Regions from separate parts of the Homo sapiens genome. Here region 2 is linked to region 1. The links are contacts of gene promoters, found by promoter capture Hi-C in blood cells and fetal thymus (Javierre and others, 2016). All regions are on one chromosome and are shown on one strand. Each heading gives the region's core, a stretch centred on a gene start or on the middle of the fragment in contact. The rest is flanking DNA. Distances are from core to core; before and after follow the strand shown.

Region 1 (5,255 bases), core at 1,210-3,709:
GGAGGGAGGGGGCTGAATGGGGGAGGTATAGGTTGTCTAGGCCTTGGGCTCAGAAGCTCCTGATCTTTTCAGGTGATGGCAACCATGTGCCAGAGAAAGCTATTCTCATGTTTCTCATGTTCCATAACTCCTTCTTTGCAATTTTTCCCAGAAGACTTATGATTTATCCTCCTCAGACAGAGGCTGCCCTGTACATAATGGAGCTTGATAATCTGAAAACTAAATTGACATTTTAAGCCAACTGAGTTAGCCAACCAAGATTTCTGGTTTTCATCTATAAGGTCAAAATTAATTTGTTGGGTTTTTTGGGGAGATTTTGAAATCATGATCTATTGTGGTGACTTAGATTAACTGTAGTTATAAACACCATCAAGGAGTTGATACGTGAGAAGTGAAATTAATCACCACTCCCTTCCCACACACACACATTTGCTCACACCATCTAGCACATGAAACAAGACCTGAAGGTGTACTAGCACTGTGCGTCACCGTGCTGTTCCTAAGAAGTAAATTTCCAGGCAGGCTTTTTTATTCTTGTAGCATCTAATTACAGAACACCGGAATGCAATGGAGACCCAGAGGTGAGCTGAATTATTGAAAAAGTAAAAGCAAAGACAGTCCAGAAAGCTATTATATATCTTCATAATAGATTCACCAAACTTAAGGGTGCTAAGAAATGCAAGCATTTAATTCAGAAAACAAATATATTTTTTCATAGCTCTAGGGAAAACTGCTTTTTTTCTCTAAACCTTCTGGAAGTTTTGGTAATTATGTTAGACAGAGACAAGAAACATAAAAGATAGTGTAGGCTCTCCGAAGGAAGTTGTATTTAGTCAGGTTAAAGTTGAAGTAATTCATCTATTAAAGCATTCCCATATTTCTGTATATAACAAGGTGTAATGTTTCCCCAATGATTTAGCAAAAGGGAATGGAAATTACAAAGGCACATGACTAGTGAGTAGGATAGGAATGTGGGTAGAGAAGGGAGAGTAAGGGGTTGGAAAGATTTAATCGTCAGCTACCTGACTCGATCTAGTGCCTTGTCCTTTAAATTACAACTTTCTCTCAAATATCATTTAAAATATTGAAACATCCTTTGTCTACCTCAGAAAGTCCAACTTTCAAACTCGCAGAACAAAAGAATAAAAAAGATACTGTGTGTTCAGTTGATAAAAATGAAGGTGAAATCTTTACACCAAGTTTAATAGTGAATGAAAAATTCTTACAATTAAAAACAGGATGAGGAAAATTTGGTACATTCATTTGTATGCTTCAATCTTCTGCTTTAAACCACGTCAAGAAACTAAAGCAAGAAAAGCTTAACTGTCCCATGTTGTTGTTCACTAAATATAAGATTATCTTTCTAAGTAAGACTTTCAACGTGCTGCTTTTTACATCTTCTAATAGCAGAAGTAACCGCTGTTCTTGGGGAAGAAAGAACTGAAACCAGTCAAACGTTAAAAGTCATGATGGCATTTAGGTGTGAGAGAAAGTTTATCCCTTAATTGCTTGCCTACTTCCCATTCACATTTAATATTGGGGGTAAAGTTTGTTGAGTATTTTCCAGAGAGCACTTTTCACTTCTTTGTTCCTAAGGCTGTATATCAAGGGATTCAGCATGGGAATCACCACTGTGTAAAACACAGAGGCTATTTTGTCTGTGTCCACGGACTGGCTGGAGTTGGGCTGTAAGTACATGAAGATGATTGTGCCATAGAAGATGGACAAAGCAGTGAGATGGGAAGCACAGGTGGAGAAGACTTTCTTCTGCCCTTCAGCAGAATGCATCCTCTGAATGGTGATGCATATGAAGAAGTAAGAAATAAGGATGACCAGGAGGGTGAAAAAGACGTTGAAGCCTGCCACAAAGACCACCAACTTGCTGATGCGTGTGTCAGAGCATGAGAGAGCCAGGAGTGGGGGAATGTCACAGAAGAAATGATTAATCTCATTAGAACCACAGAAGGAGAGTCTGAAGGTGCCTGCTGCATGGATAGAGGCATTGAGGAAGCCAGAGACATAGGAACCAGTAGCAAGGAGGGCACACACACCTGCTGTCATGGTGGTGGTGTAATGAAGAGGCCTACATACCGCTGCATGGCGATCATAGGCCATGGAGGCCAGGAGGTAGCACTCAACAGTGGCAAACCCCACAAAGAAGAAGAACTGAGCTGCACATCCATCGTAGGAGATGGCCTTGTCCCCTGACCGCAATGCAGCCACCGTTTTGGGGGCTACAGCTGATGAGTAACCCAAGTCTACAAGGGAGAGGTTACTGAGGAAAAAGTACATTGGAGTGTGGAGATGGGAGTCTGAGTGGATGATCACCATCATTCCCCCATTCCCAAGCAGGGTGATGAGGTAGATGAATAAAAATGCCAGGAGGAGGGGTATCTGAAGATTGGGGTCATCTGTTAATCCCAAGAGGATAAACTCTGTCACTTCTGTGCTATTCTCCATTGTGGCCAGCTTGAATTAGCCTGGTGATTAAAGAAGAGGCGTCAACAAAATTCCAATGAAAGTATGAGAAGGGAGGATGGAATGATAAAAAAGGAGAAAACTAATGTATAGAGAGAATGTACTGTGTGTAACACTCATCCTAGAACCCTCTGTTATATTATAGCTTTTAATTCATATGAGATAGGTGCTATTATGCCCATCTTACAGATAAGGAAGTTAAGGCTCAGGGAGCTGAATATTGAGCAAGATAGCCTATCTAGGGGTCAGAATCAAAGTTCACCCCTTTATATTTCTGAATCTAAAGTTCATACATTCATCTTGAATTCTTTAACACATTTACATCATATAAATACAAATTATGATGTGGATATAAGATTGTATGTATTTAATTATTAAAAATAAAAACATCCATCACTTATTGTCTTCCACATTCTACTTCCAATAATATAGCCTCACTAAAGATTTTCTAAATTTATTTTTCCTTAAAACAACACAAGTTTATTCTCTCAAAATTCTGGAGGCCAGAAGCCTCAAATCAGTTTCACTGGGCCAAAATCAAGGTGTTGGCAGGACAAGGTGGTGCCCTCAAGGTCTGTTTGATACTAAATCCAAAGATCTTAACCACAACTTTTGAAGCCTTTATAAATTAATCCCTCAACAGTAGTTCAACTGAAAGGGAGTATGGTATATGTAAATATGAGTATGTATTTATATATATTTAATATAAAACTATAAATTTGATATATACAAATGGCTTTGTGTATCTGTGTATATGCATATGTCTTTTTTCACCCCTTATCAGAAGTCTTTGCTGTAGACCCTAATTCCAGTTAAGTCCTCCTTTCTCTCCCTCCTCAAAGCACTTGAGTCTTGGCTGATTATTGCACAATTAGCTGGGCAACCACTCACTCTTCACCTAGCTCTAAGCCCCTTGGGACAGTAACTATCTTCATCCCCTCTGGTCCACTCTCCTTACCATGGCCCCTCACACATGTATGTAAATATTTGGTGAATCAAACAGAACATCAATAGGAAAGTATGGAAATATTTTTCATGCTCTTTAATCCCACAACAAACATCCTATCATCCTCTTGTCTACCAGGTTTGTGCTTTGGGCCAAAATATTAGCTTAGACTTGTCATATGAAAAATATTCAGGAGTAACAGTGAGTTTGCAGATGGTCAGGCCTGGAGACAGGTTTCTGTCCTCATTTTAGAGCATTCTTTCTCTCCTATTTTTGTTCCTCAACCTGAGGTGTTCACAGGCTTTCCCCACTCCTAGTAGCAGAGTGAGTGGGAGCAGACTCAGAAGAAGTGAGGGAGAAAATGTGAGAAGAGAGGAGGAAAAAGGAGAAAACAGGAATTAAAGGAGAAAAATGCTTCAGCTCTGCTGGACTTTAGCTTACCTTGAAGAGTAACAGCAGCAATTTGATTGGTGACACAAAAAGAAGGGGATAGTGTAGCTTGTCCTTTTTGGATGACCATCACACACACACGATGTGGCTAGTTTCATAAGAACTGGCTCAGTCAGCTTGGTACATTACTATCCAGTAATGTACTAATTGACTTTCTGACCAGCATCACTTTCTATTATATTTATCCAGCCTTTTTTAACTTGTTTTTCTTTTGACTTTTGACATGTGTGTATACTCTCAAATTTAGCAAACACAATATCCTGTAATCTATGACAGGCAGTGTTCTGATCTTACATATTTGGAAACAGAAGGATGTGGTGCCCCTCAAGGTCACATAACTGCTTAACTGTAAAATCTGTACAATTCCAGAGCCTGGTTTTTCAGCCTCAGCACTACTGACATTATGAGCTGGACAGTTCTTTGGTGCAGGGTGTGGTGGGGGAGAGGGAGTGCTGTCCTGTGCATTGTAAGATATTCAGCAGTTTCCCTGGCCTCTCTCTAATCACTAGATTCCAGTAACACCACCACCTCCCATTTGTAACAGTCAAAAATGTCTCCAGACGTGGCCAAATGTCCCCTGAAGGGTAACATTCCCCTGATTGAGAACCACTGTTCTAGAGCTTTTAAAAAACAGTGGTTCTAAAGTTTATAAAACTCTTTTTGCATTCACTTCTTAATTTAATTATTGCATGACTAGATAGAGAGAGAGAGAGATAGCAGATATAGACATGAAGAAACCGAGGCTCAGTGAGGTGAAGTGACTGGTTTAAAGTCTAGAACTCTGGCCAAATATTGCTGCTTATTGGTAGAGGGATCCCAGGAAGGGATAACTGCTTGCTAAGTACGTGGTCCTTTGACCAAAGAGATACCAGTCCTCCCATATTGTAAACCAACCTTTTCCTAGACACAAGGTAGGATGAAAACCTGGAAAAATTCCAAGAATAAAATGCAGCTGACTTAGGGTGGATTCTGAATTATTTTCCAAAATACCTTCTGAAATGCTTATTAGATCAATCTCCTTGGTTAATATTGACCACAGGAGTCTATTCACTTAAGCTGTACGTTCAGTTTTTAAAAGCCATTACACCCACCCCCCCGCCCCCGCCATATTGAACTGTCCCTGACTGCCATGTTCCTCTACCGGCAATTAATATTCAAGGTACTTTCTGTGTTCCGTTAATGGGCAACCCTTCCGTTTATGCATTGCAGTCTCTGTTAATAAATGTGTTGAGATCCAGAGCAGCAAGGAGAAATCTGGAGTCAGTGCAGAGAGAAAAGGCCTCATTTACCCAGCACCAAGCCTGGGAGGCTGCAAGGCCTGAATCCAAATCCTGCTGCTGCTGCTGTATCTCCTCCCACTCAAGTCCTGTAAAACCCAGGC
Region 2 (5,255 bases), core at 1,079-3,578, 1.1 Mb before region 1:
CCAGGGTCTGGGGATGCCAGCCATGAGACATTGCTTTGAGGGGAAGAGGGAGCATAGAACTGGATCTCCTGCATCCTACTGCCCAAGTACCAATGCTGGAGGTGGTTTTCCTTCCCATCATCAGCAAGTCTGGATATCCAGGATCCACCCTATGGATGTTTTTATGGACAGAGTGGGAAGATGGATATGTTTAGGTTAGGGAAAGAGGGTTTGCCAAAGAGGGCAGTATAAGTGAGCTGCACTCCATCATTCCCCTGGCACAAACAATGGCTAGTATCCTCTAGTCCTCAAGAGCACCACCTTCCAATGCAGTCCCTGCCTGTCCACAGACCTCTCTCCTCAAACTTCCTCTGAACAACCTCAGCGAGGGCAATTGCCACTCTCTGGGCAGAGTCCAGATATTCTCTCCTACCCTCTGACATCACTTTCTAAATTTGTATATGTAGATAAACTCTGAGCCATTCACATAAAGGGCTTTGATTTCGGATACGCCAAACACATAAACAAACAAACATAAGCTTTCCTTTCACAATGGGCTCATGTAAATTAAAATGTTTGGTTTTCCACCTACGGTCTTGAAAGGGGTTTCTACAGCCTGTTTTGGAAGTCAGAAAGCAAAAGGTAAATGCAAACATCATTTCACCTGCAGAGAAAATTCTAATCCTCTTGAGGCAGTGCCAAAAATAATACAAGCACACTGCTATCGAGCCAATTACTGGTATCTCTGAGCTTCCGTCTCCTCATCTATAAAATTGGAATCGAGCTGTATGGATTAAAGATAATGTATGAAAACTGCCCAATTAGTACACTATTAATAAATAGCAGCTACTGTTGTTAACAAATATTATTGACTTACTGGAAAACAAAGAGGAAATAAAGTCACATTTAGGGAGAATTTCAAAGTGTTCCTAACCTAAAAAAGAAATAAATTAGGGGGAAAACCACTAAGTAATGGGTGAGCTCAGTTTACCTTGCTTAAGAAGTCCCACCCTAGAGAACTGATCTCTAGATGACACCCAAATGCACTCAGTACAACCCCCCAAGACTGTCTGGGCTTAAGGCAGGGGCTTGGATTGTCCTGTAAGCTGTGGGAAGTCTGTTCATGAGCCACAGTAGACAGGAAGGGGATGGAGTCTTAGAGCTGGCTCTTCAGGGTATCTCCTAGTGTGTTCAAAGCAGTTCTCAGGAGGGTGGGGAACTACTACATAGCCAAGTAAATATGAGGCCTCCTTGCTCTGGGGAGACCTTTCTCTTTAACAGAGGTGAATCTGAAAGGATACCCAAAGAGGCACTGGAGGGTGGGGGCCACTCTGGCCCCTCAGAGCAGCCAGCTCAGCTTCAGTGGATGCTAGAGGCAGCAGAGGATCAGCCTGGATCAGCCTCCCTTTCACCATGCAGAAAACAGAGCTCCCCCACCAGACCAGATACTGGAAGCACTGGGCCAGGCCTAAGAGAAAGCAGAGCCCCAAGCCCCACCACACCAGGGCTTATGAGGCTACTGCTACCCACCCTCCCAAGCCCCAGCTCCACTTCTATGTTCATCAAGCAACTGTTTACTGGTAACTGCACTTCCCGATAGACTTTGCTAGAAAGGAATGCCTCAGTGCACTGACAATATCTAAACCTGCAACTCTAAGGACTAGGCTGGGGAACACTGTGTCAACATGGAGGCACGTCCTACCCCTGAGAAGAAAAATAAGGAATATCAATAATACCTGCTGGGCACTGAGCACTGACTATGTATCTGATTCGAAGCGCTTTTTGCTTAATCTGTCACTGAATCTCACGATAGGTGTTGTTATTAGCATCTATTATCTGGGCCAACTGAGGCCTAGAGGGACGAAGCAACTCCCCCAACATCACCAGGTAGCAGTGTCAGGACTGGGATAGAAACCTGATGCTCTGACTGAAACTAATGCTTTTTTTTTTTTTTTTTTTTTTTTTTTTGAGACAGCATCTCACTCTGTCACCAAGGCTGGAGTGAAATGGTGTGATCTCAGTTCACTGCAGCCTCCACTTCCCAGGTTCAAGTGATTCTCCTGCCTCAGCCTCCCGAGTAGCTGGGATTACAGGCGTGCACCACCATGCCCAGCTAATTTTTTTGCATTTTTTGTAGAGATGGGGTTTCGCCATGTTGGCCAGACTGGTCTCAAACTCCTGGGCTCAAGTGTTCTGCCTGCCTTGGCCCCACAAAGTGCTAGGATTACAGGCGTGAGCCACCATGCCCAGCCAGCTGATGCTCTTAATCTGTGCCCTACCCAGCCTTCCTGGGAGGCTTCCCAAGAGCTACACAGAGCATGAGTTCTGGAATCGGGTTGATGGGGGTACCAGTTATTACTAATAGGAATGAAGATGGGTAATTCTTTCAGACAGCACCCTTGATTAAAACAAGAGAGTAGTGCTGCCTCTCTGTGATTCTGTGTCTCCCTGCCCTGCTCACACAGACACCACACCCACCCACACGCATGATCATGAAAAGAGGAAATGGATCCAGGAGAAGGAGACGACTCCTGAGTGAAAACAACGGGGTTTTTCACATTGAGAGCTTTGCCCAACACCCCAAAGATGAAAAGAGCAGGAAACTGCTGGGGCCGATTGAACACTGGACTTTTGTTGTGGAAAAAGGCAAAGGGAAGCCGGAAGAGACTGGAACAGTTTCCATGGTGCTGGAGGATGGGGAAGTGGGTAGGGATTAGCTGGAGGGAGAAGGAGAAGCTGGGGTGGAGGGGAACCTCCACTTGCCAGGAGAGCACATGTAGGATGGGAACCCCAGATGATACTCAAGGCATGGCATTAGACCAGAAGCAAGTCTGTGGTGAAATTAGGGAAGGCTCCACTGCGGACTGTAGACAGAGCACTGGACAAGGAAGTGGGAGACCCAGGGTCCAGTCCTGGCTCTGGAGCCCCCTGGGTGGGCTGCCCCGGGCACCTTTCTCTCTTGGGGCCTCCATTCCTACCTCTGTGAAGCGAGTGCTGAACCTCTCTTAGCCCTGACTTGCTGAAATGCTGGGACTCTGTACAGAGGCTGACATTAAGCAGGGATCTGTCGTGGGGTGCTGCAATGTTCCTCCAGATGCTGCACGGGAGAGGGCAGAAAAGGCCTATATGGTGAGTCCGCCCTGGGAGCCTCTGCTTGGAAGCTGAAGTGGCCTGAGAGTGACTCAGAAACCACGGAAGTTCCCGGGGCTGATGGGTTCTTATAGATTGTACATGCAGCTCTCCTCGTGGGCTGCAAAACCGCAAGATGGGCTGTGACCACTCTCAAGGAAAGAGCCCTATCTGCAAAAAGCATTCTGCCCTCCAGGTCTTAAAGCAAACACAGACTCAATCCTTATTCCTTTTAAGACAAAATTGCCTCAGGGGCATCAGGGAGGCAGCAGGCCTCAAATGTGTGCCTTTCTAGAATTCTCAATGAAAGCACCCTTTTGGGTATTAATAATGACAACAGTAATGACAGTCATTTACTGAGTGCTGCTTTTGGGACAGGCATTGGGCTAAGAGCTATATGTAATATATATTATTATTTGATGCCCACAGCCACCCCATAAGGAGGCGGAGGTACTATCATTATGCCAACTTTAAAGATGAAGAAACTGAGGCCTCAAGAGATGAAGTAACTTGGCCAAGTCACTCAGCCAGTAAATGGGAAGAGATAGACTTCCCAGTATCCAGAGCCCATGTTTTCACCATTATGCTGAAGTACCTCTTTTCCTGTGCCAATGTGATCTGCCTCCAGGAATCCTGTCTTGATGTTCCCTTCCCCATACAGAAGTCCTCTCTGTGTCCTCTTCAGCCTGATAGTATATCTTTTCATACCATTCTTTGGACATCTCTGTTATACTACTCCAATGGTGTTCCCTCCCCTACCCCTCCCTGGGAGCTTAGTTGTTGTGATTAAGTATAGGGGAAATGACCCACACTAAACAAACTCATAAGAGACTGATTGATAAACCTGAAATGCAATTTATTAATTAACACTGAGAAATGAAACCACCCAGCAGATGGGAATCCTAAGGCTGACTGGTCAGCACAATCTCTTTCAGGAAGGACAGGCTTTTGGGAAAGGAAATCAATACCAGAAGGTTCTTTGTTGAGTACAAAGTCAGAGGGAAGGGAGTTGATGGATTGACACATAGGTGAAGCTTGACATACCTCTATAAAGCCTCCATCCTGCCAAGGATCAGAATATCCAAGGCAGGGAGCCATCTGGGTGTCCTCTCCTTTGGACAGTGCTGGATTTTTCTGGATCCTATGAAGATCTTACCTTTCTGGCTGCATTTATCATGATTGTGGAAGGCTTTTTGTTTCCTTGTTTGCTTAGATTAATTTCTGCGTATTTAATAGAACTGAAAGGCAATTTCCCATTGAGACCCACTGAAGAGGAATAATCAATACATACTAGTTGTGTTGCCCTTTGCAGAGAATTCACTTCTGTGTTGTCACTGTATCCTCATGCTTCCTTATAATGGAGGGACAGAGATGGTAAAAACATGGACTTGGAAGCCAGACCGTCTGGGTTTGAATCCTGGCTCTGTTACTTATAAGCTCTGCAACCTCGGGCAGATTACCTAAGTCAGTTTCCCCTTCTCTGAATTGGGGATAATAATAGCACCCACCTCAACATCTGTCAAGAGGATTCAATGAGGGAATACACATAAAGTGCTCAGAACAGTGTCTGCCATCTGGTAAGCAGTCAATACTTGTTAGCGATGATTAATAATTCATTTCATAGATGAAAAAACTGAAGCCTAGAGAGATAAAAAGTCAACTAAGATCATACAGCCAGTAAGTGGTGAAGATATCATTGAAAATCAAACTGGCATCCTTTAAGCACTAAAGTCTTTCCACAGACTAGTTTCTTACCCATTCGCTTTCATAACAAGCTGAAGGAGAGCTTGTTTAAAAATCAGGTATATCCACCCACCGGAATGGGTAAAATTTAAAAGAATGAAAATATCAAGGTGGAGCTTGGACGCAGAACAACTGGAGGGAGTAAGCAGTAAGAACCACTTTGGAAAAGTGTCTGGCAGTTTCGAAATAAGTTAAACAAACACTTAATGAATCAGCCAAGTTCAACCAGGGATGTGGAACCACTCTCTCTGTGGATTGCTACAGGGATTTGGCCTTACTCAATTGTAGGAGGTAGTTAAGCAATCTTGTAAGGCTATTATCTTTGCATGTCATGTTGCAGTTGAATTCCACAGGTCAGGCAACTGGGAAAGGAAGATGGATATAAAGTGGGCAAGACAGAGCAA

What was found. The method cuts DNA at HindIII sites, captures the fragments that hold promoters and counts their contacts. A CHiCAGO score of 5 or more calls a contact.
Region 2: a contact is called between a fragment that was not itself captured here and the fragment with the promoter of OR5B21 in region 1, in 1 of 17 cell types (total B cells). The highest score is 5.4, in total B cells.

What each region holds. Positions count from the first base shown.
Region 1 is chr11:58,505,646-58,510,900 of GRCh38, forward strand. OR5B21 (olfactory receptor family 5 subfamily B member 21) reads right to left here and starts at 2,460. Exons shown (of 1, transcript NM_001005218.3): 1 at 1,162-2,460. The coding sequence starts at 2,460. The coding sequence ends at 1,531. The region is part of intron 2 of LOC105369313 (a long non-coding RNA gene); the gene reads right to left. The HindIII fragment of the contact is 6,996 bases long and covers 1,317-5,255 here.
Region 2 is chr11:57,429,737-57,434,991 of GRCh38, forward strand. No RefSeq gene overlaps it. Among named protein-coding and RNA genes, the nearest start is that of SLC43A3, 5.2 kb to the left of the region's middle. The HindIII fragment of the contact is 3,624 bases long and covers 517-4,140 here.